Regions from separate parts of the Homo sapiens genome. Here regions 1, 2, 3, 4, 6 and 7 are each linked to region 5. Evidence: promoter capture Hi-C in 16 types of primary human blood cells and fetal thymus (Javierre and others, 2016). All regions are on one chromosome and are shown on one strand. Each heading gives the region's core, a stretch centred on a gene start or on the middle of the fragment in contact. The rest is flanking DNA. Distances are from core to core; before and after follow the strand shown.

The links. The method cuts DNA at HindIII sites, captures the fragments that hold promoters and counts their contacts. A CHiCAGO score of 5 or more calls a contact.
Region 1: a fragment that was not itself captured here is called in contact with the fragment with the promoter of ZNF572 in region 5 in 3 of 17 cell types (naive B cells, total B cells and fetal thymus); the score reaches 8.5 in naive B cells.
Region 2: a contact is called between a fragment that was not itself captured here and the fragment with the promoter of ZNF572 in region 5, in 3 of 17 cell types (fetal thymus, naive B cells and total B cells). The highest score is 6.6, in fetal thymus.
Region 3: a contact is called between a fragment that was not itself captured here and the fragment with the promoter of ZNF572 in region 5, in 16 of 17 cell types (naive B cells, total B cells, fetal thymus and 13 more). The highest score is 20.1, in naive B cells.
Region 4: a contact is called between a fragment that was not itself captured here and the fragment with the promoter of ZNF572 in region 5, in 16 of 17 cell types (naive B cells, total B cells, fetal thymus and 13 more). The highest score is 25.6, in naive B cells.
Region 6: a contact is called between a fragment that was not itself captured here and the fragment with the promoter of ZNF572 in region 5, in 4 of 17 cell types (total B cells, naive B cells, erythroblasts and 1 more). The highest score is 8.2, in total B cells.
Region 7: a fragment that was not itself captured here is called in contact with the fragment with the promoter of ZNF572 in region 5 in 14 of 17 cell types (total B cells, naive B cells, endothelial precursors and 11 more); the score reaches 20.3 in total B cells.

What each region holds. Positions count from the first base shown.
Region 1 is chr8:124,487,401-124,491,105 of GRCh38, reverse strand. It overlaps RNF139 (ring finger protein 139), which reads right to left. Exons shown (of 2, transcript NM_007218.4): 2 at 2,488-3,705. The coding sequence ends at 3,462. TATDN1 (TatD DNase domain containing 1) reads left to right here. Exons shown (of 12, transcript NM_032026.4): 12 at 2,410-2,608. The coding sequence ends at 2,512. Among named protein-coding and RNA genes, the nearest start is that of RNF139, 14 kb to the right of the region's middle. The HindIII fragment of the contact is 1,041 bases long and covers 1,256-2,296 here.
Region 2 is chr8:124,469,253-124,472,729 of GRCh38, reverse strand. All of the region lies in intron 1 of RNF139-DT (RNF139 divergent transcript), which reads left to right. Among named protein-coding and RNA genes, the nearest start is that of RNF139-DT, 3.6 kb to the left of the region's middle. RefSeq lists an enhancer at 735-1,236. The HindIII fragment of the contact is 259 bases long and covers 1,616-1,874 here.
Region 3 is chr8:124,588,334-124,591,698 of GRCh38, reverse strand. It overlaps MTSS1 (MTSS I-BAR domain containing 1), which reads left to right. Exons shown (of 14, transcript NM_014751.6): 4 at 464-548; 5 at 1,988-2,079. Among named protein-coding and RNA genes, the nearest start is that of NDUFB9, 51 kb to the right of the region's middle. The HindIII fragment of the contact is 2,738 bases long and covers 340-3,077 here.
Region 4 is chr8:124,568,125-124,571,591 of GRCh38, reverse strand. MTSS1 (MTSS I-BAR domain containing 1) reads left to right here. Exons shown (of 14, transcript NM_014751.6): 7 at 3,056-3,213. It overlaps LOC105375740 (a long non-coding RNA gene), which reads right to left and starts at 2,709. Exons shown (of 2, transcript XR_928608.3): 1 at 2,678-2,709. The HindIII fragment of the contact is 8,842 bases long and covers 1-3,467 here.
Region 5 is chr8:124,971,542-124,975,132 of GRCh38, reverse strand. It overlaps ZNF572 (zinc finger protein 572), which reads right to left and starts at 1,838. Exons shown (of 3, transcript NM_152412.3): 1 at 1,717-1,838. RefSeq lists an enhancer at 1,736-1,895. The HindIII fragment of the contact is 4,233 bases long and covers 1-3,591 here.
Region 6 is chr8:124,510,871-124,514,337 of GRCh38, reverse strand. The region is part of intron 6 of TATDN1 (TatD DNase domain containing 1); the gene reads left to right. Among named protein-coding and RNA genes, the nearest start is that of MIR6844, 4.0 kb to the right of the region's middle. The HindIII fragment of the contact is 3,726 bases long and covers 1-3,157 here.
Region 7 is chr8:124,548,208-124,551,777 of GRCh38, reverse strand. NDUFB9 (NADH:ubiquinone oxidoreductase subunit B9) reads right to left here. Exons shown (of 4, transcript NM_005005.3): 4 at 1,799-2,017. The coding sequence ends at 1,886. It overlaps MTSS1 (MTSS I-BAR domain containing 1), which reads left to right. Exons shown (of 14, transcript NM_014751.6): 14 at 1-994. Among named protein-coding and RNA genes, the nearest start is that of NDUFB9, 11 kb to the right of the region's middle. The HindIII fragment of the contact is 729 bases long and covers 1,242-1,970 here.

The sequences.
Region 1 (3,705 bases), core at 527-3,026, 480 kb after region 5:
AAGACTTTAAAAACCTTTGCCTGGCTGGGCACAGTGGCTCACACCTGTAATCCTACCATTTTGGGAGGCCGAGGCAGGCAGATCAGTTGAGGTCAGGAGTTCAAAACCAGCCTGGCCAACGTGGAGAAACCCTGTCTCTACTAAAAATACAAAAAAATAGCCGGGCATGGTGGTGGGCGCCTGTAATCCCAGCTACTTGGGAGGCTGAGGCAGGAGAATCACTTGAATCTGAGAGGCAGAGGTTGTAGTGAGCCAAGATCACACCACTGTGTGATCACACACAGTGAGCCAAGATCACACCACTGCACTCCAGCTTGGGCCACAGTGTAAGACTCTCTCAAAAAAAAAAAACAAAAACCTGTGCTTACTGTAAAAGTGCCACATTAAACAAAAGCCACTAAATTCTCAGGGACATTAAACAACTTTATATTCATTTTGGAATAACTGCAGCTTTGACCACTGAAGATGTATGGAAATAGCATGGCTTGGCTACAGAAGGGTTATTCGAAGAAAGATTTCCATAAACTGCATTATCAAACAGTAAAATAGGATGTCCTAAGCTCCAATAGATTTTTTTTTCTTTTTTCTTTTTTTTGGAGAGAGAGTCTCGCTCTGTTGCCCAGGCTGGAGCGCAGTGGCACAATCTCAGCTCACTGCAACCTCCACCTCCCAGGTTCAAGCAATTCTCCTGCCTCAGCCTCCCGAGTAGCTGGGACTACAGGCGTCCACCACCATGCCTGGCTAATTTTTTTTGTTTTACTAGAAATAGGGTTTCACCATATTGCCCACACTGGTCTCGAACTCTTGAGTTCAATCTGCCTGCCTCAGCCTCCCAAAGTGCTGTGATTACAGGCATGAGCCACTGGGCCCAGCCCAATAGATTTCTTATAAGCGATTTCAATAAAATGAATTTGCTATGCAATATAATCTTAGCAAAGCTGCTGTGACCTTCAAAACTGTGTCATCAGCAGCATTAATCAAGAGTTCCAATTCTGAGAAGTGCATACAGAGGGACATTCAGTAGTTTCCTAAGAAAAATGGATTTTCACTGTCTTAATTTAAATGTTAATAGATTTGCTTTTAGTGTATCTTGACTGTCAGATAAAATTTTAGTGTAGTGTTTGCTTAGTATAAACATCAAGCAAGGCTTTTGTGTCACATTACAAAACAATTTTTTAAATTCCCATTAATCTTAGATCTCCATCCTTAATTCCTTTAGGTGTTAACATTTAAGATACTAAGGGAACAAAAAGCTTAGGCAAAGAATATTTAAATGTTCAATTTGGACTTTGGAACTTTCTAATTCATGTATTAAAAATCTTCCACTTATATATAATAAGTATGGAGACACTACGGATCATCATTACTGTAAGCACAGAAACTGAAAGATGCGGCCAGGCGCGGTGGCTCACACCTGTAATCCCAGCACTTTGGGAGGCCCAGGTGGGGTGGATCACAAGGTCAGGAGTTCAAGACCACGGCCAGCCAACATAGTGAAACCCCGTCTCTACTAAAAATACAAAAATTAGCTGGGTGTGATGGCAGGTGCCTGTAATCCCAGCTACTCAGGAGGCTGAGGCAGGAGAATCACTTGAACCCAGGCGGCAGAGGTTGCAGTGAGCCGAGATCGTGCCACTGCACTCCAGCCTGAGCAACAGAGTAAGACGCCGTCTCAAAAAAGAAAGAAAAAAGAAAAAAAAAAGAAAGGAAAGAAAAAGAAAGGAAAGGAAGGGAGGGAAGGGAAGGAAGAGAGAGACAGAGAAAGAAAGAAACTGAAGGATGGACACCTGGGCTTATTTCTCTCGCAAGGGTAGAGGTACAGAAAGCCCTCGCCCTCAATAACCACACATTTTTCCAAGTAAATATTACTTTTGCAGCAACCTAATACCTTCATTTGCTGTCTCTCAAGGACTAGTTCTCTAGCAGTAGATTTCCAACTGTGGCTGCTGTCCCACAGTACAAATTACGTTGTGACTTAGGACACACATACATAATAAAACCTAACAAAAAATGGAACAGTACTTACCCTTATTGAGTACAATGTACTTGTCAATGTTTAAAATGCTCATCATGACCCACTAATGAACATGCTATGACTCACAATTGAAAAGGACTCTTCATTTCCACTCAGTTAATGCTATAATTGGTGAACATAATACAGATGGCTGCTTTAATAATTTACTTGAACCTGGTTCTTAGCTCTAGTTATATGCAAGACAGTCCATAAATCTGTTTCCAGTTACTGGCAGTAAGTTTTTCTATTGATATTGCTGAAAAACTTAATAACTGTTAAGCTTTATTATATTAAAGGTGTGCCAATATTTTCCTTTGTGTGGAAAAATATTATATAGCTTTAGAACTAAATGTATACTTGGAGATTTAACCATTTTTGTTTTTGTTTTGTTTTAGTCAAATATTGGAGATAATGTCAGCAGTGAGAGATGAGGATCCACTGGAATTAGCCAATACACTATATAACAATACTATTAAAGTATTTTTTCCTGGAATATAATTGGTATATGTCTTCCACTTTCCATCATGTATGTAAAATTTCATAGTAAAACTTCCTGATAGTTTCAATAAAGAAATTATCTGCAAGTTGTCTAAAGAAATACTATATATCGGTACACACCATTCCCCACCATTCCCCTTCTTTTTCTCGTAAAATCAGATCAGGATGTTTTTATATCATTGAGTATCTTAGTTTAAAACAATTTAAAAAAAACTATTTTTGTTTTGTAATATCTTCAAAAGAATGAAAGGACAATTTTATGACAATACTGCAGACACAGAATGGCTAACAAATATACAATTTTACATAAAAAACATTTAGCACATTCTGGTTTATATCAAAGTTTAGTTGATACAGTTTATTTGTCAACCCTCAGTCTCTCTCTGAATCAGGACTTTCAAACTCAGCTCAATTACACTGCTACTCAAGTTTCAAAAAAGGTCCTCAGTTGCTTCTGGCAGCTAATTTTTTCTTTAGTTTTAAAATACTCTCTCATGTCCTTTATCCTCTGGTCAAATTATTTTATTTCCTTGACTTTAATGTGGTTTCCTGATTTGCATTTTCATTCTCCCACCCATTTCTAAAGAAAAACTGAGGTCCAAAGTTACATTATATAATTTCATTGAAGAATATTTGGCACAGGTGACGCACCATATGATCATTACATCTATTAAAAAGCTATTTGTTCAAATTTTGTCATAAAAATGTGAAAACATTTTATTCTATGTACAATAATGTACACAAATTTAAACAGGTCACCAAAGAGACCAGAAGTAATTAAAGAGGTATATTTACAGTAGCACATCACAGTAAACGGAAAACCATTCACAGATTCAACATTGATACTGTTTTTGTGCTTGGTTACACACTGAAGGTGAAGGATATTACTCCATTTTGGATGAACTGAATTTTAAACAAATACCTCAATCATTAATAAATGCTATTTTCATCAGTCAGTATCATCATTAAATTCTTCAGCTGCTGCGCCTGTGTGCTGAATCACTCCATTTCTTTCTCTTTGAACATCATCATCACAATCTGTACTGTCATCTTCGTTCAATTCCCTGTCAGATTCAGCAGCAGCTTCTCTTACAGCTTCCTCTGGAGTTTCATTGGGTGGAATAAATCCATTGTTGTTAGATACATTTGAATTATCCTTGATATCATCTTCGATGTATACTTTCTGATGGCAC
Region 2 (3,477 bases), core at 496-2,995, 500 kb after region 5:
TCTTTGACTAAATTCCATCTTGGGCCGAGAACTTTCAGGAGCGGTGGCAGTCTTTTTTTTTTTTCACACAGCTTCTCCAAGCAGGCTCTCTGCCAAACTTGTCCAACCCACCTTATTTTGTTACTGTTGTTGTTCTGTTTTGTTTTAGGCTGTTAACAGCCTGAAGCCATGGTTTTTAGTTTCTGTTTCTAGTGATAAGCGGAAAAGAGAGATGAGGAGGTATTTACTGACCCAACCAGAAGCGGAAACTAAGAACCCATGACTGTATTATCTCCCTTGGACACCCCTGTGTGAGCTCTCTTTCTCCATCTATAAAATGAAGGTTTGAATGAGGTCCTGGCAACTGTGTTAAAATACTACGTTAAAATTAAATTTATAGTAATGAGGTAATTTATAGGATGCTTAGGAATTTTTAAGATAAAAGATGTTTCCAGCTGGGTGTGGTGGCTTATGCCTGAAATCCCGGCACTTTGGGAGGCCAAGGAGGGTGGATTGCTTGAGCCAGAAGTTCAAGACGAGCCTGTCCAACAAGGCAAAACTATATCTTTACAAAAAAATTGTAAAAATAGCTGGATGTGGGCTGGGCGCGGTGGCTCACACCTGTAATTCCAGCACTTTGAGAGGCCGAGGCGGGCGGATCACAAGGTCAGGAGTTCGAGATCAGCCTGGCCGACATGGTAAAACCCCCATGTCTATTAAATATACAAAAATTAGCCGGGTGTGATGGTGGGCACCTGTAATCCCAACTACTTGGGAGGCTGAGGCAGGAGAATTGCTTAAACCCGAGAGGCGGAGGTTGCAGTGAGCCAGGATGGCGCCACTGCACTGCAGCCTGGGTGACAGAGTGAGACTCTGTCTTGGGGGAAAAAAAAATAGCTGGGCATGGTGGCATAGGCCTGTGGTACCAGCTGCTCAGGAGGCTGAGGTGGGAGGATCACTTGAGCCTGCCTTGAGCCTGGGTAGCAGAGGTTGCAGTGAGCCAAGATCACGCCACTGTACTCTAGCCTGGGTGACAGAGTGAGACCCTGTCTCAAAAAAAAGGTAATGTTTCCAAGAAATAGCTACAATTCACTGAATCTAATCTTTGCTTGATTTCTGCATTGATTTGAATGTTGCACAACTCAGGTGTACATTTATATTGAGTCTGCACAGTGTGGTTCATGAGTGTGTGTGTGTGTGTGTGTGAATACACACACACACAAACTGTATACATAGAATACTCGTGTTTGAAAATAACAATCTGTTATAAATCCTTCAGATTTAACAGCTCAGAAAGCCTTTTAGTAGCTTTCAAAACTTTTACAGGTAGGATGTGTAAAAACTAGTTTGAATTTTCTCTTGACATTTGCATTAATGAAGTCTTTGTTTCCTACAACAGAAACTGATTCTTCTGGGTTATCTTAAGCAAAAAGGGAATTTATTAAGGGGTTATTTTCATTATTCCTCAAGATTTCAAGTCCCAGGAGAGACCACCTATATTAGGCCATTCTTGCATTGCTATAAGTACCTGAGGCTGAGTAATTTATAAGAAAAGAAGTTTAATTGGCTCACGGTTCTACAGGCTGTACAGGAAACCTAGTGCCTGCATCTGCTTCTGGGGAGGCCTCAGGAAGCTTTTGCTCATGGTGGAAGGTGAAGTAGGATCAGGCACTTCACATGGCAAAAACAGGAGCGAGGGGGTGGGGATAGGTGTCACACACTTTTAAACAATCAGATCTCATGAGAACTCACTATGGTGAGGACAACACCAAGCCATCAGGGATCAGTCCCCATGACCCAAACACCACCAGGCCCTACCTCTAACTGGGAATTACATCTCAACATGAGATTTGCAGGGGAGATCCAAATTACATCACCATCCAATTGGTCAAGCTTATTGGATCATGTATCTGCACCCTAGCTTCTGTAGTGGGAGGAGGCAGTAGGAAACATGCACTTGGATTTAACCCCTTCACTCCCCACTTCTACTAATATGTATTTTCTTCAAGTGGAAGATAGGGATACTGGTAGGAAGGGTAGTGTCCTAGTCTGTATTCTGTGGTTTATAACAGAATGCCTGAAACTGGGTAATTTATAAAGAAAAGGAATTCATTTCTGGCAGTTAGGGAGGAGGCTGAGAATTTCAAGGTGGAGGGACCACATCTGGGGAGAATCTTGTTGCTGGTGGGGACTGCAGGGATCAGGGGGGCTGAGCATGCCCACTCAGGCCTTTCTTCCTCTTTTTATGAAGCCACCAGTCCCAGGCCAGGCACGGTGGCTCACGCCTGTAATCCCAGCACTTTGGGAGGCCGAGGTGGGTGGATCACCTAAGGTCAGGAGTTTGAGACAAGCCTGGCCAACGTGGTGAAACCCCATCTCTACTAAAAATACAAAAAATTAGCCTGGCGTGGTGGGAGGCTGAGGCAGGAGAATCGCTTGAACCAGGGAGGCAGAGGTTGCAGTAAGCCGAGATCACACCACTGCACTCCAGCCTGGGCAACAGAGCAAGAGTCTGTCTCAAAAAAAAAAAAAAAAAAAAAAAGCCACCAATCCCACTCTTATAGTAACCCATTAATCTATCAACCCATTAGTCCATGAATGGATCACCAGCCCTCATGACCCAATCACTTCTTAAAGGCCCCACCTTTCAGTACTGCCATATTGGGGATTAAGTTTCCAATGCATGCAATTTGGGGGACACATTCCAACCAAAGCAAGTAGGATTGATGGTGAAAATATATGCCATAACTTTTTCTCAGACCCTGGGAATTACTGCAATTGATCTCTTATCCTAAATTACTTTATGGTTTTTCTCTTCTCATTAAAGTAAATTCAGATGTGCCCATCAAAATTCTATTTGAATTTTCTGGTTTTGTAGATGCCAAATAAATAGTAAGAGTTTGTTTTTGCTACTTCTACACTGCTGTGTATGTAGAAGTGGGAATGTAAACTAGTACAACCACTATGGAAAACAGTGTGGAGACTCCTTAAAGAACTAAAACTAGAATTACCATTTGATCCAGGATTCCCACTACTGGGTTATCTACCCAGAGGAAAAGAAGTCATTACATGAAAAAGATACTTGGACATGCATGTTTATAGCAGCACACTTCGTAATTGCAAAAATGTGGAACCAACCCAAATGCCTATCAATCAATGAGTGGATAAAGAAACTGTGGTATAAATATATGACAGAATACTACTCAGCCATAAAAAGGAATGAATTAATGGCATTCGCAGCGACCTGAATGAGATAGGAGACTATTATTCTAGGTGAAGTAACTCAGGAATGGAAAACCAAATATCATATGTTCTCATAAGTGGGAGCTAAGCTATGAAAATGCAAAGGCATAAGAATGACATGATAGAATTTGGGGACTCGGGGAAAGGGTGGGAAGAGGGTAAGGGATAAAAGACTACAAATTGGGTTCAGTGTATACTGCTTGGGTGATGGGTAGACCAAAATCTCACAAATCACCACTAAAGAACTTACCTGTG
Region 3 (3,365 bases), core at 459-2,958, 380 kb after region 5:
CTGCCTTGGCTGTTCTAAATAATGTTAACGGGATTATTTTGTCAGAATTGTTGAGAAAAGCTACAGCTCTTCCCTAAACAGCAGATACTATATTGATTATCTTTCATGAGAAGTATTTTTCAAACTACAGGTCATGGTCGATTTATAGGTTGTAAAGTCAATTTTTAGATTACAATCAGCATTACAAAAAAAATCAGATGGAATAGAAACTAACAGAGTGTGGTATATAGTAGGAGCAGCCTTTGGTGATAGTTTTGGTGATACAGAAATCTGTCACCATACGTACATACATGTTTACATGTGCCTGTGTGTATGCACACATGGGCATGGTGAGAAGCTTCTAAAGATGGTGGCTTATATTTTACAATGTGGTGAAATCTGACTTGTTTGTAAAGTTCTCTAAAGACCTCCATGATCCCTGCTAGTCTTCTATCCCTCACCTTTGCCTCTGTTGCTTTTTCAGGTGGGACCAGGGAGATTGGATCTGCTCTCACCAGGATGTGCATGAGGCACAGAAGCATTGAAGCCAAGCTGAGGCAGTTTTCGAGGTGAGGAGCATGTTTTGGCCCCGATCGCCAACACCCTTGCAGATTTCAGGTTAAGGAAGCAGTCATGTGTGGCACACAGCATTTAAATCCCCACAATCTGTCTGACTTGGCTCATTCATTGCCTGAGTATTGTTAGGCATCTGCTGCATACCAGGCACTGGTCGAGGCCCTGGGGGTGCAGCAGATCACCAGCCAGCCAGGCCCCTGCCTTCACAGAGCCTGTGCTCCTGCATGGGTCTCTCCTTACCCTTTGTCTGTGCAAGGAGCCGGTGCAGCCTGCTGAGGTCTTTTGGGCCCCCACTGCCCTGCGGGAGCCTCGCAAGAAGAGGGGCTGTGAAATTGGAGAGTGAGATGTGCCTTGGTATCCTGTGTGCATCCTCCAGACTCACTGAGGGATGTGGCAGCTCACAGACCACTCCACACCGCCAGCTTCCCATCTGGCTTCCAGGCATCCAGAATAGGGAAGAAATGGTAGTAGCTGGCACCGGAATTGGGTTACAAATGTTCAAGTGAAAATGGACATTGCTTTCCAAGCAGATCAGCATCATTCAGCAGTTTTATGTGATTCTGTTTGGGAGACTGCACAAAATGAAGGGGCACACCTTCAGAGACCTTCACCCCTCAGTAACCCCGAGGCTGGCAGTGCAGCTCGAGAATTTTCTGGGTCTCGTCACTCTTCTCTTTCTCCAGGCTGTGCATACTTAGTGTATATTTATGACCTGTCATGCCGCATGCACAGCAGAATCTTGTGGGTCTTTTTTAAAAATAGTGATGCTGGGCCCCACCCTCAAAGTCTCCATTGGGGGTGAGATAAGGCCCAGGTGTCTTTGCATTTTGGGGGTCCCTGTTGTGCAGCTCTCAGAGGGGTGACCCCTGTGGTTCTGCAACTTGGCTTGTTAATACAAACACTAGAATATCACAGGGAAAATGGGAAGAAGGGTCACTCCCACCAGTCACATTGACAGCTTCTTAGTAGTCATTGAAAAACATTCTTGGGGCCAGGCGCGGTGGCTCTCGCCTGTAATCCCAGCACTTTGGGAGGCCAAGGCAGGCGGCTCATGAGGTCAGGAGATCAAGACCATCCTGGCCAACATGGTGAAAACCCATCTCTACTAAAATACAAAAAATTAGTTGGGCATGGTGATGTGTTCCTGTAGTCCCAGCTACCTGGGAGGCTGAGGCAGGGGAATCGCTTGAACCTGGGAGGTGGTGGTTGCAGTGAGCCGAGATCGCGCCACTGCACTCCAGCCTGGTGACAGAGCGAGACTCTGTCTTAAAAGAAAAGCATTCTTGGAACATGGCTGTTCTGGAGCCCCGGGGTTTAGATGAGAACGTTTCGGGTAATTGTGATTTAGGTATGTTTTGACAACCACATTTAAATCCTGACAACAGAATGTATCTATTTAATTTCTCCCTTTTTCCCCCCCGCTTGGTAAAAGCGCTTTAATTGATTGTCTGATAAACCCACTTCAAGAACAGATGGAAGAATGGAAGAAAGTGGCCAACCAGCTGGATAAAGACCACGCAAAAGGTACAGGGGCGAGATGTCTAGCGCATCACTGCACGCTGGGGGGCGCTGTGGGAAGTTGCCAGCTGCTGCCTGGCCCCTCTGCTAGGTTTATTGGTGTCACCAAAACAGCCAAGGGCCCACTCTGTCCCTACTCTCCTGTAGGCACGTCCGTGTCAGGGGATGAGGAGAACAAAGTGATCCCGTTGTGAGGCTGAGTGCTGTTTCTTTGGTGTGAAACAACATTCAGCAGCTGATAGTCTGATCCCTCAGTGGCATGAATTGTATTCAGCTGAATTAAGAATAAATCACAGGGTGGGCGCGGTGGCTCAGACCTGTAATCCCGGCACTTTGGGAGGCCGAGGCGGGCGGATCACTTGAGGTCAGGAGTTTGAGACCAGCCTGGCCAACATGTTGAAACCCCATCTCTACTAAAAACACAAAAATTAGCCAAGCATGGTGGTGGGTGCCTGTAATCCCAGCTACTTGGGAGGCTGAGACACAAAAATCGCTTGAACCCGGGAGTCAGAGGTTGCAGTGAGCCAAGATTGCACCATTGTACTCCAGCCTGGACGACAGAGTGAGACTCCATCTCAAAAAACAAAAAAAAAGAAAAAGAAGAAATCATAGGCCGGGTGCAGTGGCTCACACCTGTAATTCCAGCACTTCAGGAGGCTCAGGTGGGCAGATCACTTGAGTCCAGGAGTCTGAGACCAGCCTGGCCAACTTGGTGAAACCCTATGGCTACTAAAAATACAAAAAGTATCCAGGTGTGGTGGTGCATGCCTGTAATCCCAACTACTCGGGAGGCTGAGACACGAGAATTGTTTGAACCCAGGAGGCAGAGGTTGCAGTAAGCAGAGATTGCACCACTGCACTCCAGCCTGGGTGACAGAGCAAGACACTGCCTCCCCCTAACCCTCCAAAGAAGTGAAAATCATCATGGCAGGTTTAAATGCCAAACATTTATACTTAAGGCATTTCAGCACATTTTGAAAGCCAGACTTTTAATGATATAAGCTTACCCTAGGTCTCCTGCCCATTCTCTTTGTGCGTTGTCCCAGGTCGGTGAGACAAGTCTTTGTGAACTGGTTGAGTGAGTTGTCAGGGACCTTGATGGTATGAGAGGAACTAAGTGTAATCTGCACAGCAAATAGCACTGATGCTTTCGAGTGAGAGTGTTTGTGTTCCCTTCACACAGGCCAACCAGACCTTCGTAAGAGCTTCTCATCCCCTGTTCAGGTCATTCTGATGCTTTTTACATGCTAGGCGCTATGGGGGCTACAGAAGGATGAGTGTGGTATCTACTG
Region 4 (3,467 bases), core at 102-2,601, 400 kb after region 5:
GACTTCTGTTCACCATCCTACACGAGAGTTGAGAACATTCTGAGGTGGTCTGCAGCCCTCTGTGTTTTGTTATTAGAACATCATAGAATAGATCGAGAGACTAGAAGTAGCCCTCTAGACCAGCCCTGAGTCATGTGACCCAACAAGGCCCACAATTGGCCATGCTGTTTGGCTGCTTGCAGAGGAAAAGCAAGGGTTTACAGCTTTCCAGAGCTTCCCTGCTGGTGGACTCGTATCATACACACATTAAGTATATCTGGATTAATTTTGCACTAGCCAGCATTTTAAAATAGAAGAGAAAACTCACAGTTTTCATAGTGCTGGTGGCACCCAGCCTTCCCTCTGTAAGCCGTTGGCCACAGGTGGTGGGTCTCTGTGAACAGAGCACCTGCCCTGAGGCAGATTCCAGGAGAGAATGGGAGAATGTTTTTACAGGTTTCTTGTCTACTAAAAACACATGAAACCAGTGGCTCAGGTGGCCAGATTAATGTATGGTGATGATTACTCCTACATCCTTGAGGAAGAAATTGAAGGCATGGTAAAGAATTATTCTGAGGGGTGGAGGTAGTGACTACATGGAAGAATGGGTGAGTGGGTCACCTTGAAAATATGCTGAAACACCCAGGCGCTGTGGCTCATGTCTGTAATCCCAGCACTTTGGGAGGCTGAGGTGGGAGGATCACTTGAGGCCAGGAGTTCAAGACCGTCTGGCCAATAAAGCAAGACCCAATCTTTATAAAAAAAAATTGAAAAACTAGCTGGGCATGGTGGTGCACGCTGGTAGTCCCAGCTGCTTAAGAGGCTGAGGCTGCAATGAGCTATGATCATTCCACTGCACTCCAGCCTGAGTGACAGAGCAAGACTCTGTCTCCAAAAAGGAGAAAATTATGCAGAGACTTCTCAAGCAGCAAATTTCTTATATATAGTAGTTCCCCCTTCTCCTCAGGGGATATGTTCCAAGACCCCCCGTGGATGCCTAAAACTGCAGATAGTACCCGAACCTTACATATACTGTGGTTTTTCCCATGCATACATGTCTATGGTAAAGTTTAATACATAATTTAGGCACAGTAAGAGATTAACAACAATAATAATAGAACAATTATAACAATATACTGTAATAAAAGTCATGCGAATGTAGTCTCTTTCTCTCTTTCAAAATACCGTATTTTACCACACCATGGGTAGCTGAAACTTTGGAAAGCAAAACCACAGAGGAGGGGCCAGTGTAGTATAATCGTTGGGTAGCACCCCTCCGTGGACTTAGATACATACTATCTACACATTTGTACTCACTTGACTGATGAGAGTTATATACACAAAGCTGTCCATACTGTATTTACTGGCCATCTAAGGCATTTTCAAGGGTGATCTTTGACTATAATTTTCTCATAATGTGCTAACTTAGAACTTATTCCCTGTCTGAGAAGTGACTTTTCCTTACTAAAATCTGACTACCTTTTCTATTGGGATGTGCTTTAAGCCTGATTGCCTCTTGCTCCAAATTAAACTTTCTCCTCTGCTTATGAGTGAAAAATACAGAATATGTTCCTACATCCAAGGCAATTTTCCCTGACCCTTTCTTTCTTCAGACCAAATGGTTCATTGCATTTAATGTTCTCTACATCACTAAGAGGGATAGATGGAAACTGCAGGGCCCTTCCTGCGAGGCGGTGGGGCAGAGAATAGGTTCAGTGTTAAGGGAATTAGGCAGTGTGGCTCAACCCTGCCTCTGTACCATTCTTTCTGTGACCTTAGGTGAGTCCCTTGACTTCTCTAGGACTTGGTCTCCATTGAAACATGAGCAGATTGGCCCAATTGGATAACCCCTTCCAGCTCTAACATTTTGTGTTGAAACTATTAAACAGACATTTATCAAGCACCTGCTGTATACACACATGACATTGTACTAGGGGCTGTGCTGGGAAAGACCAAAATCCTGCCCTGAAGAAGTTTAGGAAGTATCTCTCTGGTTTGAGTGATAGGTAAGGCCCCTGCATAGGCAGCCCAAGGTGGAAGCTCATGAGCTGGTGTCCCCTGCTGTCACCCTGCTGTCCCCACCTACAGATCAGATTTGTAGTAGCTGCTCCTTTGGACACAGTGCCTCTTGGTCCATGTTTATCTTTTAGGGCAGCAGGCTTCTTTTGCAAGAGGCCATGGTCTGGGGGCCATACTCTGTGTCACACTACTCTGCCATTGTAGGGAGAACTGGTACAGGCAATATGGTAAATAAATGGATTTGGCTGTGTTCTAATAAAACTTTATTTGCAAAGATGGTTTGCTGACCATGTGTTAGTCATTCAAAAGACTAACACCCTGTCTTAAACTCCAGAAGTGGTTGCCTGCACCTAACTGGGGTCTGTGGACCTGGCCAGATAATTCCTAAACATGGGCCAGGCTCCGCATAGACCCCACTTTCAGTTTTTCATCATCAGAGACCTGTCTGGAGGTCTTGTTATTACTGGGCTTGTTCTACAGCAAGAGCATTCAAGACTCTCCACTAGAGAGTCAAAGGAACTGCCAAGGATTCCCATGGGCCCCCAGAGCCAGGAGAGCGGATGCTTGCCACCTTTGTCTTTAGGAGCAGATCCTTCTATCCAGACAGAGGCTCTTTGATTGAGATTGACCCAACAAAGCCAGCCCGTGCCCGTTTTTGGAAACACCCACAGGCTCTTACCTTGTTTCCACATCTCTTAGCCTCTTCAGAATGTTCTGCAAGGAAAGAATGCTGTCTGGCTCTGTGTTCCAGGGTTGTGTTGGCAGAAGAGTTGGTGGGGGTTGTGCAGTGTGAGAAGGCAAGTCATGAAGAGTTGCCCCAGGACATTTTCCTTGTCAGGAATAAGCCAGGCTAAATGTGCCCTTTGGGCATTGAAAATTGGAAATGGCTGGTCCTAGAAAAACAGCTGCCTTAAATCCTTTTGGGGCATGAATAAATACTTTTTTTACATCCTGGAAAATTGTGGTTTTGACTCCAGCAAGGACCCCAGGGAGGAGGGGCACTTGTTCCAGAAGCTGGTATTTCAGCAAGCCGTGCTTGGGTCTCTGTTTTTTGCAGGGAGAGGTGATATCCAGCCTCAGTTGGACAGTGCTCTCCAAGATGTCAATGATAAGTATCTCTTATTGGAAGAAACAGAAAAGCAGGCTGTCCGGAAGGCTTTGATTGAAGAACGTGGCCGATTCTGTACCTTCATCTCTATGCTGCGGCCAGTGATTGTAAGTTAATGGAAAACTCCAGAAGGTTTAAACTGCTGGTGTAGAGGTGGCTTCCTTCTAATTTTATCCATCCACTGTTGAGTCATGGAGAATCTACTGTCAGGAATCATGATGGTGGTATCTCCTGTACAGACCAGCGATTCAGTGCAAGTTGATGGCCATGTAGCTCACTCCTCATTCACTGTTCTAGTACCACTTGTTCCCCGTTACTTTGTCTCACCAAGTCAAGAAGGCCCAGCAGGGTGGTTCTCAAA
Region 5 (3,591 bases), core at 589-3,088:
AGGAAAGTTAGGATTTATATAACCAGTAAAGAGAAATTAGGACAAAGCCGAGGTGGAATAATTATAGCCAATAACCCTGCAATATAAAAAGGAGGCTAAAGAGGGACCTCTTCCTCCTTGCACTTAGTTCCTAAGTCTATCATATTCACAATATCCATTTCAGCCTAAACTTCGTCTTCTGGAGCCAACAATCACTAACCTATTTTAAGGGACTAGAAAATGTTCCATCCTGGCTAATGCGGTGAAACCCCATCTCTACTAAAAATACAAAAAATTAGCCGGGTGTGGTGGCGGGCGCCTGTGGTCCCAGCTACTCAGGGGGCTGAGGCAGGAGAATCGCTTGAACCCAGGAGGCAGAGGTTGCAGTGAGCCGAGATCGTGCCATTGCACCACTCCAGCCTGGGTGACAGAGCAAGACTCTGTCTCAACAAAAAAAAAGAAAAAAGAAAAAGAAAAAGAAGAAAATGTGATCTATCACAGGAAGGCAGTGACATATGGACTTTTGGCATCCATTTCAGAATATAAAGAGTATCATTATTTGGGAGAAAAATAAGGACGTAAAAGGATATACAAATGCACACATTTTAAAAACAAAAAATAGTATATGTACTTATATTGTATCTTCACCATTACTGCCTATTATGTGCCAGGTAGTGAATGAAATAATTTGCACACATTTGTCATTTAATTCTTACAGTAGCCCTCTGAAGTGTATGAACAACTACCAGCATTTTATAGGATGAGTTTGAAAGGTATTAAGAAACTTTCCTAAGGTCACCTAGAAAGTGGTAGAGCAGGACTGAGCTCCAAGTCTGTTTGGATGCTGACCTTTTTCACCCTCTGATCTATTATCGTAAACTAGAACAGGAAGCAGAGCTGGGCATAATCCCAAACTGCAAAGAATCCTCAGAGTCCCTTTATTTTAGAATATTTAGAATACTGGCATTTTAAAACAGAGGTCTACATTCCTAAACCTTGTTAACAAAGTGAGTCGACATTCCCTAAGCACACTCAGCAAGTGGGGATTTGTTCTAGAGAAACGTGAAACTAGTCTACATTACTAATATCCCCAGTGTTTGAGTTGGGGGGGAGAAAAAACCATACACCTGAATGCAAAAAAAGGAAGGGGGTGGAGTTGTTCGAATGGAGTTATATATTTTGCTGTCCTAAGTTACATATTGTTATCAAAGTATTTACAAAAGCAGCAAGAGTCTGGGCAACACATTACCATCTCCCCCATTTTCCCTACTAAAATACTATTAAATTTGGCAGCAAAGGAGCCCCCGGAACAGTGGCTCAGCAAAATGGTGGCAAATGCAAGACCATACAAGGCTGCCATTAAGATGTCTCTCCACGGGGAAGGAGTGTTTTCACTGTTCTAGAGCAACAATGTGATCAGAGTGGGGCCGTGCTTTGATCAGAAAGCCTTCAAAGAAAATGCACTGCCTGAAGCCTAGTTTTAAGAACCGCTGGCTGGTACAAGTTGGAGACGCTGGGGGGTGAAGTTCCAGGATACCAGACGGTCTCCGGCCGACAAGATCCCGTAAGGGACCCCGCGGACAAGGATGACGGTGGCCCGTCGGCGGGAGATGCTGGGCCTTCGCCCCTGGCAGCAGCGGGAACTCTCTCCCGGACGTCCACTGCAGCCTGGACGGGGCTGTTTCCACTCCTCTAGCCCGCAACCCTCGGCTCCCTTCCCCCCAAGAAGGAACTCACTGTTCTGGGTGCTACACCCAAGGCGCCCTGCACCCCCAGCGGTCCGGGAGGAAGGTACCCCCTCTCCCTCTGACCCCACCAACCCAGGGTCCTAAACTCTCAAACCCGGAAGGCAGAAACAGGAAGTTACCCTCATCTCCCCCGGCGGCTTTGCTGGGGCCGTTCTAGGAAACAGTGATGGCCCACTCTCGTTGATCTTAACCCTTAGGGTCCTGGACCAGAAGGAGCGTGGGGGTGGATTTCCTTTCCCTGTGCTGTGACCAGCCAACTGTGAACCTCATTTCTCTCACTTGTCAGGCGGCTTACGACAGGGGCCTGATTGGAGCTTATACTTTTCCTTGCCATCAGAATATCATCAGATTAATTATCATCACTATTAGAATCAAAATCAATCTAGTATTTTTCTTTTTTGAGACGGAGTCTCGCTGTTGCCTAGGCTGGAGTGCAGTGGCGCGATCTCGGCTCACTGCAAGCTCCGCCTCCTGGGTTCACGCCATCCTCCTGTCTCAGCCTCTCGAGTAGCTGGGACTACAGGTGCCTGCCACCATGCCCGGCTAATTTTTATATTTTTCGTAGAGACGGGGTTTCACCGGGTTAGCCAGGATGGTCTCGATCTCCTGACCTCGTGATCCGCCCACCTCGGCCTCCCAAAGTGCTGGGATTACAGGCGTGAGCCACCGCGCCCGGCCTCAATCTAGTATTTTTAAACACCTATTGTTTCTGTTCCCACCGCTATGAACATGGATATATATTTACTTACCTGTGAAAGTTAGAAAGCTAAGGCATCCATTCACATATAAAACAATTCGTTTACAAGGCACCCTTATTAACACCTAGAAAAGTAGTTAATCCCTCCTCTTTCATTACAGAGAAAATAGAAGCCAATCCCTTCATCTCACCTCTACCAAACAGAAATCTACTCAAGTCTGCACCCTGCCGTTTTCTTTCTTCCCTCCTGTTACAATACAGAGTCCCTCTGTGACCTTTTTTTTTTTTTTTTTTTTTTTTGTGATGGAGTTTCACTGTGTCACCAGTCTGGAGTGCAATGGCAGGATTTCGGCTCACTGCAACCTCTGCCTCCCGGGTTCAAGCAATTCTCCTGCCTCAGCCTCCCAAGTAGCTAGGACTACAGGTGTGCGCCACCATGCCCAGCTAATTTTTGCATTTTTAGTAGAGACTGGGTTTCACCATGTTGGCCAGGATGGTCTTGATCTCTTGACCTCATGATCTGCCCGCCTCAGCCTCCCAAAGTGCTGGGCTCTTTGGTATTTTAATAAGCCCTTTACTGGTACTCACTTTCCTACCTATCTTCTTGGAAACTTCGCACTACCAACTAAACTCTCCATCCCTCCACCCCCATCCCCAAATAGTCCCTCAGCTTTTCTTTTCTCTTTTTACTCACAATGTTTCCATTTCATCAATTTTCCACTAACCTTAACATTTCTCCTGCAACAACAACAACAAAAAAATCACTAGCATCACCAATGACCTCCATGATGTTAGTTAGTGCAACTGGTATTTTTAGTTCTCGGGTCCTTTTTCAGGAGGTTTGATATGGCTACGGACTCGTCTTCTAGAAACACTCTTTTGAGGTGACATCACATTCTCCTCCTTTTCTTCCAACATCTCTAGTCAGTCCTGTTAGTCTCTTTTCCAAGTCAGTCCCTCAAGATCATCCTCTCCTCTTATCACTGAATGTTCTCTGCCTAGGCAATCTCATCCACTCCCACATTTTCAAATACCACCTAGGCAGACAACTCAAAAATTTACTTCTCCAGCCCAAGCTACATGTCTGAGCTCTTCACTCATAACCAATGGTCTATTTGGCATCTCATACAGGAAGTCTCAATAACACCTCAAAACCAAAATGTCAAA
Region 6 (3,467 bases), core at 45-2,544, 460 kb after region 5:
GACTTGATGGCCTGAAGGGATTTTTTTAAATTACGCATGAGGAAAGTGTACTTCCTCCCGCTTCCCTCCCTGCTCCCCACAAATGGGATTCTGATATGTACCCCCTGGTTGAAAATCACTTTGGGGAGGAGCAGATCTGCTAGTGGAGTCTGTCATACCCTAGACCTCAAGCTCCAAAGTTCTGAAGTGTGAAGATCTATAACCAAGTAGAATAGGATGGGTTAACGTAATGCTCTGTGGATACCTACTCTCTCTTTTAGGTCGCTCATTTGTACATCCCTTGTAGAACTGTTTAGTTTGTGGTATATTATTTGCTGATTTGCTGTGCCTTTCAGGGACATTCATGTGGTTACTAGCAGGGTTACTGAAGCCCTATACCTCTGTCGAATATTATGTAGGCCAGCTCACTTAACCTTAAAAGTTCTCGTGTTCACATTGAAATAGAAAAACAGTTCTCTTTAATAGTTCTTTAGGTTAAGCCCAGATATCATATTCCTCAACTTTCATGTCTGGTTTTGGTCAGGATAAGCCTTGTAAGTCTAATAGACTGTGTTATGACAAGCAAGGGCAATGGCAGAGTCCCCGTGTTTTTTTGCCCATATGACTTTTCATCCAAAATGAGTTAGAACTGATTCTAAAATGCAACCTCAATACTTTAAACTCACTTTTGGGATTAATCGAAAACATTGACAGTATCAGTTTAATTTAACTGTTCTGAAGATTCTTCACCATCATCAGAATAGCGTCTGATCTTAGAATATGCATATCACAGCTTGTGCTTGAACTCACATGCCAAGCGTTAATTGCTAATAGAGAGGTTCAAACTACATTCAGTAAATGATTACCAAGTGCCTCCTCAGCATGATACAAAGAAGAATAAGACTTTTTCCAAGAGAGGACATAAATAATTAAAATAGGTTGGAAGTGCTTACTAAAGTATGTGAACAGCAGAGGGAAGGACTGACTTTCTGGGGGATGCTCTAAGGTGACAGCATATGACACTGGCTTCTTCCAGAGTGGATAAGCTAATGACAAAGTAGGAGGAAATTTTGATAAGATAGGCAGTTCTACTTGAGATTTTTAAAATTTTAATAATAAAACATCAAATGACTTGGTTAAAAAAACAGCCGGGTGCGGTGGTTCATGCCTATAATTCCAGCACTTTGGGAGGCCAAGGCAGGCCGATCACCTGAGATCAGGAGTTCAAGACCAGCCTTACCAACATGGTGAAACCCCGTCTCTACTAAAAACAAAAACTAGCCAGGCGTGGTGGCGAGCACCTGTAATCCCAGCTACTTGGGAGGCTGAGGCAGGAGAATTGCTTGAACTGGGGAGGAGGAGGTTGCAGTGAGCCAAGATCGTGACATTGGACTCCAGCCCGGGCAACAGAGAAAGATTCCGCTCAAAAGAAAAAAAAAAGACACACTAGTAACAATCACATTTTGATTATTGTTAAGGAAACAAATACCCACATTCTCTGCCCCTCACTCCTTTTCCCCTCGCATATACTCACAGCATGCAATCTGTTTTGTATACACAGCACTCTACTTGTTTCAGCACTTACCATGTTGTACAGAAATGGGTTTTCATTATCCCTTCCTCCCCGCAACAGACAGGTGTCTTTGAGTTCCTCAAAGGCACACACCAAGTCTTACTCATGTGACAGTTCCATAGCACTTAGCACAGTACTCTCAGCACATGGTAGGCACTTAGTAAATGTCTGTTGAATATTTAATACAGAGGGAAGGTTCTTTTCTTTTTTATTCCCTTTGAGCAGCATGGATAAAAAGCCTATAATTCAGCTTTCACTATTGGGTTTATTTTTGGAAGACTTCAGATTTTGGTCTGCACTTTTCTACCATCTGGAACAACCAGTGTATGATTGTGTTTGTTTGTTTGTTTGTTTGTTTTTTGAGATGGAGTCTCACTCTGTCCCCCAGGCTGGAGTGCAGTGGTGCAATCTCAGATCACTGCAACCTCCACCTCCCAGGTTCAAGCAATTCTCCTGCCTCAGCCTCCCAAGTAGCTGGGATTACAGGTGCCCATCAGCATGCCTGGCTAATTTTTTTGTATTTTTAGTAGAGACAGAGTTTCACCATGTTGGCCAGGCTGGTTTCGAACTCCAGACCTCAAGTGATCCGCCCACCACGGCCTCCCAAAGTGCTAGGGTTACAGGCATGAGCCACTGCACCCGGCCATGATTTGTTTTTAAGTAAATATGTAGTCAGGAAAAAGGAGATGTATGAGAAAAGAAAAATAGAAAATTAGGGGGCAAGACAGAAAAATTAATATACAATAGATGTAGTGTCTGAAAAATAATGGTAAGTGAAGGCGGTGTATGACCATGTTAAAAGGATGAGCTTTGGAATCAGCAGATCTTTGGGTGAGATTTACAACTGCCTTTGGTGTCACTTCATCCCTTTGTGCATCCCCTTTAAAATGGGGAGATTGCTGCCTACCTTTCTTAACATAAGGCACATAAAGCCCATAGTGACATGAGTCATGCAGAGTATGTGCACAATCATGGCTGTTGTTACATTCCTCATACTAGAAATAATTACCACCCTAAAGGAAGATGCTAGCTATTGTTTTTGTTTGGAACTTTTAAAAGTTTTTTTTTTTAATACTTTTTTCTTGTTTTAGTACCTAGACCTTTTCTGGAAAAAGTATTTTTTAAAGACTAAGAAAGAGAAGCAAAGAGTGAAAACAAGGAAAGGCCTGATCTACTTATGGAAAGTTTATCCTTTAAGCCATACCCTGTATTTTCAATTTCCTGGCCTTATGCTACACTCCTTTCCTTGTTGCAATTTAGAGCTCTGTTCTCTTGGGTAGGAGGAATTTGCTTTGGGCATTTTTCTTGGGGCTTTAAAATGTTAACACTGTGCAGGTCTTAAAAACTACAACAAGAAGATTTTAAAACAATCCTTTGGGGATTTAGGGGACCCTAGAGATGAGCAATTGAGGCCATGTTGCCATCAAGCAGCTTACAGAGGAGGGATTACTACTTGTGTTGAGGTATACCCATGAAACTCACTGGGCTTTTTGGATTTGCCTTGATCCTAATTAATAACAACTGCTCCTGAAGCTGAACTTTTCCAGCTCTTGTCGTTAGATAGTTAAACCTCAACTGTAAGAAGCAGTAATAAAATCAGAAGCTTCACTAAGATGAGCAAATAACTCAAGTGGAAAATTATTTTCATTTATGAACTTTAAAAAAATAATAAGTGAGTAAAACAGGCAGAGAAGTCTCTTAATAGATGCCAATTCCTACCCTGTAACTTATACAGTTATTTCTAGTTACCATGGCGGGTTTTTCTTCTCTAAAGATAATAGTCGTTTGATGTTCAGTACTAGTTATCCTCAATTTGTATCATTAGGAATAATTTTTTTTACCACATGGCTTCTTTATGATACGTAGCTAGCATGACTTCAGGGACCTTTCTTTTCTTGAATTATGTAAAATTCTG
Region 7 (3,570 bases), core at 357-2,856, 420 kb after region 5:
ACTGTCCTTTTTTTGTATTCTGGGTAAATGTTTTTTGGAAAAGATTTGTCTTTTCTAAGTGGAAGTTAAATTTGTTATACTGCCCATCCCCTAAAGCCAACAGAGATTTGTAGATTTAAAGGGATCACATTTGAAGACAATAGTGTTTAAGAAAGCAAGCAAGTCCCTTAGCAGTCAGGTCATAACAGGGCACATTTCTGACCGAACCCTCTCAAGGCAGAGGAGGAGTTTGGTGGGTTTCATACACCCTGCAGATTCCTGTTGGCTCTAACCCTCAATTACCTAATCTTATGCTTTAACACATAACTGCATTGGATGTGAGAGTAACGTACCGTATGGTCATTGTTCTATATATTAACATTGAACACTGCTGCGATTGCTCAAGGACATTTTATGTTACGGCTTTAAAGCAAAGGCATGATTATTAGAAACTATTTAAGCTTTTTTCTTTGAAAAACAAGCTCCTTTTACAGAATATAAACAACAGTAGTGCCTGTGGTTTAGCCCACCAATCTTGATGACTAAAAGTAGCTGATGCATTGTGCATATGATGCTTGAGATGGTTTTTGCAAAAGCAGAAATCGCTGCAAGGTAATCACAATAGATAAAAGTGGTATTTTAAACCTTTGAAATAAATGGATGTAACTGTACCTTGGTACAGCTTTTCACTTGTTTAGTTTTTAAACGTTAGTATAATCTGAATAAATAAAATGTTGCCAAATTCAATGTAGAAAGAATGTGACAACACACCTTGGGTAGTTCTGCTTGTGTTTTTGCATATTGTAAAAGCAGTGTCACAGCTAAAAAGAAAGAAATCGTTTCTAACAGTAAATTATTGTGCTTTAGTTGCTAGTTTGTACTGAGAGTTGACCTCTCCCTGTGCAGTTTTTTGTTCTAAACTTGTATAAATAACAATTGTGTAATGTGTCTCCCTCCTACATTGTAACAATTGCTTCAGCCTACGTTATAAATAAAGAACCACTAGATTAAAAAAGTCCTGTATTTCAAGTCTTGTTACAATTCAGTTTGAGGTCTTAGTCAAATGTTAGAAGATGGACTGGGACTCAAATTGAGCTTACGTAGAAAAGTGACAAAATATTTTTGTGATGGCTATAAGATCATTAGTTGCCTGAAACTATTTGAAAACAGTTCTAGCTAATGAGGGATCAAGAACTAAAAGCAGCTGTTTTGGGTTGAAAGTTTTAAAAACTGCTTTATCTTTAAAAAACAAAAACAAAGCTTCTGAAACATTTAAGGAGTTCTGTTATTCCCTTACCTTTGAGTCCGCAGACAATCCAAGCTACGGTAGCAGAAGCAAAGCTGGAAAACTGCTTCTAAAATAAGCGCCACAAAGTTTTATCCCAGATTGGACCATTTAACCCCAACCATCAAACCTCCACCCCTGACAGAACTCCACAAATTCCATGCTTATTTGTTGACTATGTACTTCTTAGGGAGAGTTGTTCTTCTAATAAAAACTAAGTTCCATTAGTGAAATCTTTAGAAAACCAAAAAGGTTATTTTTAAATCCTCAGTATTTCTGTTCTTGGCTTTGTTTATTCCTTCTAGTTACCACAGCTAATTAGGCCTTTGACTTGAGAGTTTGTTCGCCTCAATCTGGTTCTGCCTCAGTTTTTCCTTACTGGTAACATATGCTATCAGTGATTTATTGCAGAGAACACAGCTGACTGACTACATGTCCTGTCATTTTCTTTACATGCACGATTGATAAAACAATGACAGTGGCACAGTCACTTGGCATCACAGTAATTCTTAGAAGAACGTCAGTCATACCAGAGACCATTTCACTGATTTTTTATTAGGGCAAGTGCATGTTCTGTAACATATTTCACTTGCAAGCATGAAAGATGAGGTCTCTCTCTTTCTACATGGGCCGCTCCCGGGGTCTGGTCACAATATACCACCACAGTGGGGGCAAATCACCTTCCTTTCGGGCAGGGGGCAAAGCTTCAGTTAAAGGACCACCAGGTGGCGTTTCCTCCTGCAGCTGCTTAACCTAGAAGGAGGCAAGGAAGGAATCATTACCAAAGGAATCTAATTGACTATAAAAATCTGTCTGCTGCAGTGAAGGGTCAGCTTTATGTCTATGGTGTGTCACTGACATTACACACTATCTGATCACAATATTGAAAAGTGTTTTTTACATATACCTGCTTTATTTTCATATCCACACTTTTAGAAAAGTCTCCTTAAGGGTTTTCCCATTCTTTTAAATAGCAAAGCCTACCCTTCCTATTCTTCCCCCTACCCCTTTTCATCACCTCATTATCTGGACCTCCTCTTATTCTGCAGACAGAAAAATGACAACTATCATTCCAATTCTCCTTGTCACAGCCCCCACCCACTGACCAGAAAAACATTTATTGTTGTGTCTCAGCTAAGTGTTCTCCAAAAGCACCATTAAGAAACCTCAGTTCATAATATGCTGGGGATGTTAATTCTAAGCCCCCTTCCTAGCAACCAAGAACAAAAATAAATCACAAAATTACATGTAAAAATATGCTCAGTTCTGCCAAGTGCTGCCCTACTACCTCCAGTTCTAGTTATGGCCAAGATAAATGTCCTAACAGAAGATCACCCATTCTGGATTGTGGCTGCCCTGGGCCTCCAGTCACACGTGCTGCTTAATAGTGTTGAAGTGATGGGATGTGTAAAGGAGGAATTGTTTGATGTTATCCCAGTGATCAATTGCAGAATGCACCTGCGGCTCACCATGCATATACTTCAAGCTTCTAAACGGTGAGACATTTCTGACAAAACACTGCCCCCTTTGGCCACAGTGCCCTTCCTTCGGGTCCCCCTTGGCCAAACACTTCCAAAGGTCAATATCCTCAGTGTTATCACCAGAACCAGCACAACTTCCAAATCATGAATTCAAATATCCCACTATCCAACCACACTCTCCCTTTCCCACTCATTTGTTTAAATGCCTCCTTGAAACTCAGACTACCAATTCACAGATCCTCCCAACTTGGCCTTCCCTCTCTGCATCTGCCCCCACTGGCTTGACTTTGTTTTTTTTTAAATTCAGCTTAGATTCCATCATGACAACAGCTTCCTTTCGAATAACCTCAAGTCCCTTGTCACTCTCTGAGCAACAGACAAACCGAACCATATACCCTCAGGCCTGTGCTCATACAGCTTAGTATTGCTAAAGAGAAAAAAGATATGGGAGCAAATCGGAGTCATTACCCACTGATTATTCCCAACCTCAAATGGGCCTTTGCCACCTGGCCATCCTACTACTCTCCAGCAAGCTCTTCCTCGCCTCATGACTATCACATCTTGTCCACATTCTCCAAATATGCTGCACCCACTCATTCTGGGCTTTTCCTCTTATTTCACTAAAAAAAGGAAGCTATCACACAAGTCTGTCATCTTCAAAACTTCTAACCCAAATGTATTTATATACAATCTTTTGCCCAATTATAATGCACAAAGAATCCTTTTTCCTTTTCTTTTTTCTCTATACTCTCTCCTAAGGATTCCATACATCTCTCCATGGCTTTTAAAACTGAAAACTCCCACGTTTCTGTTTCTAGGCCAAAT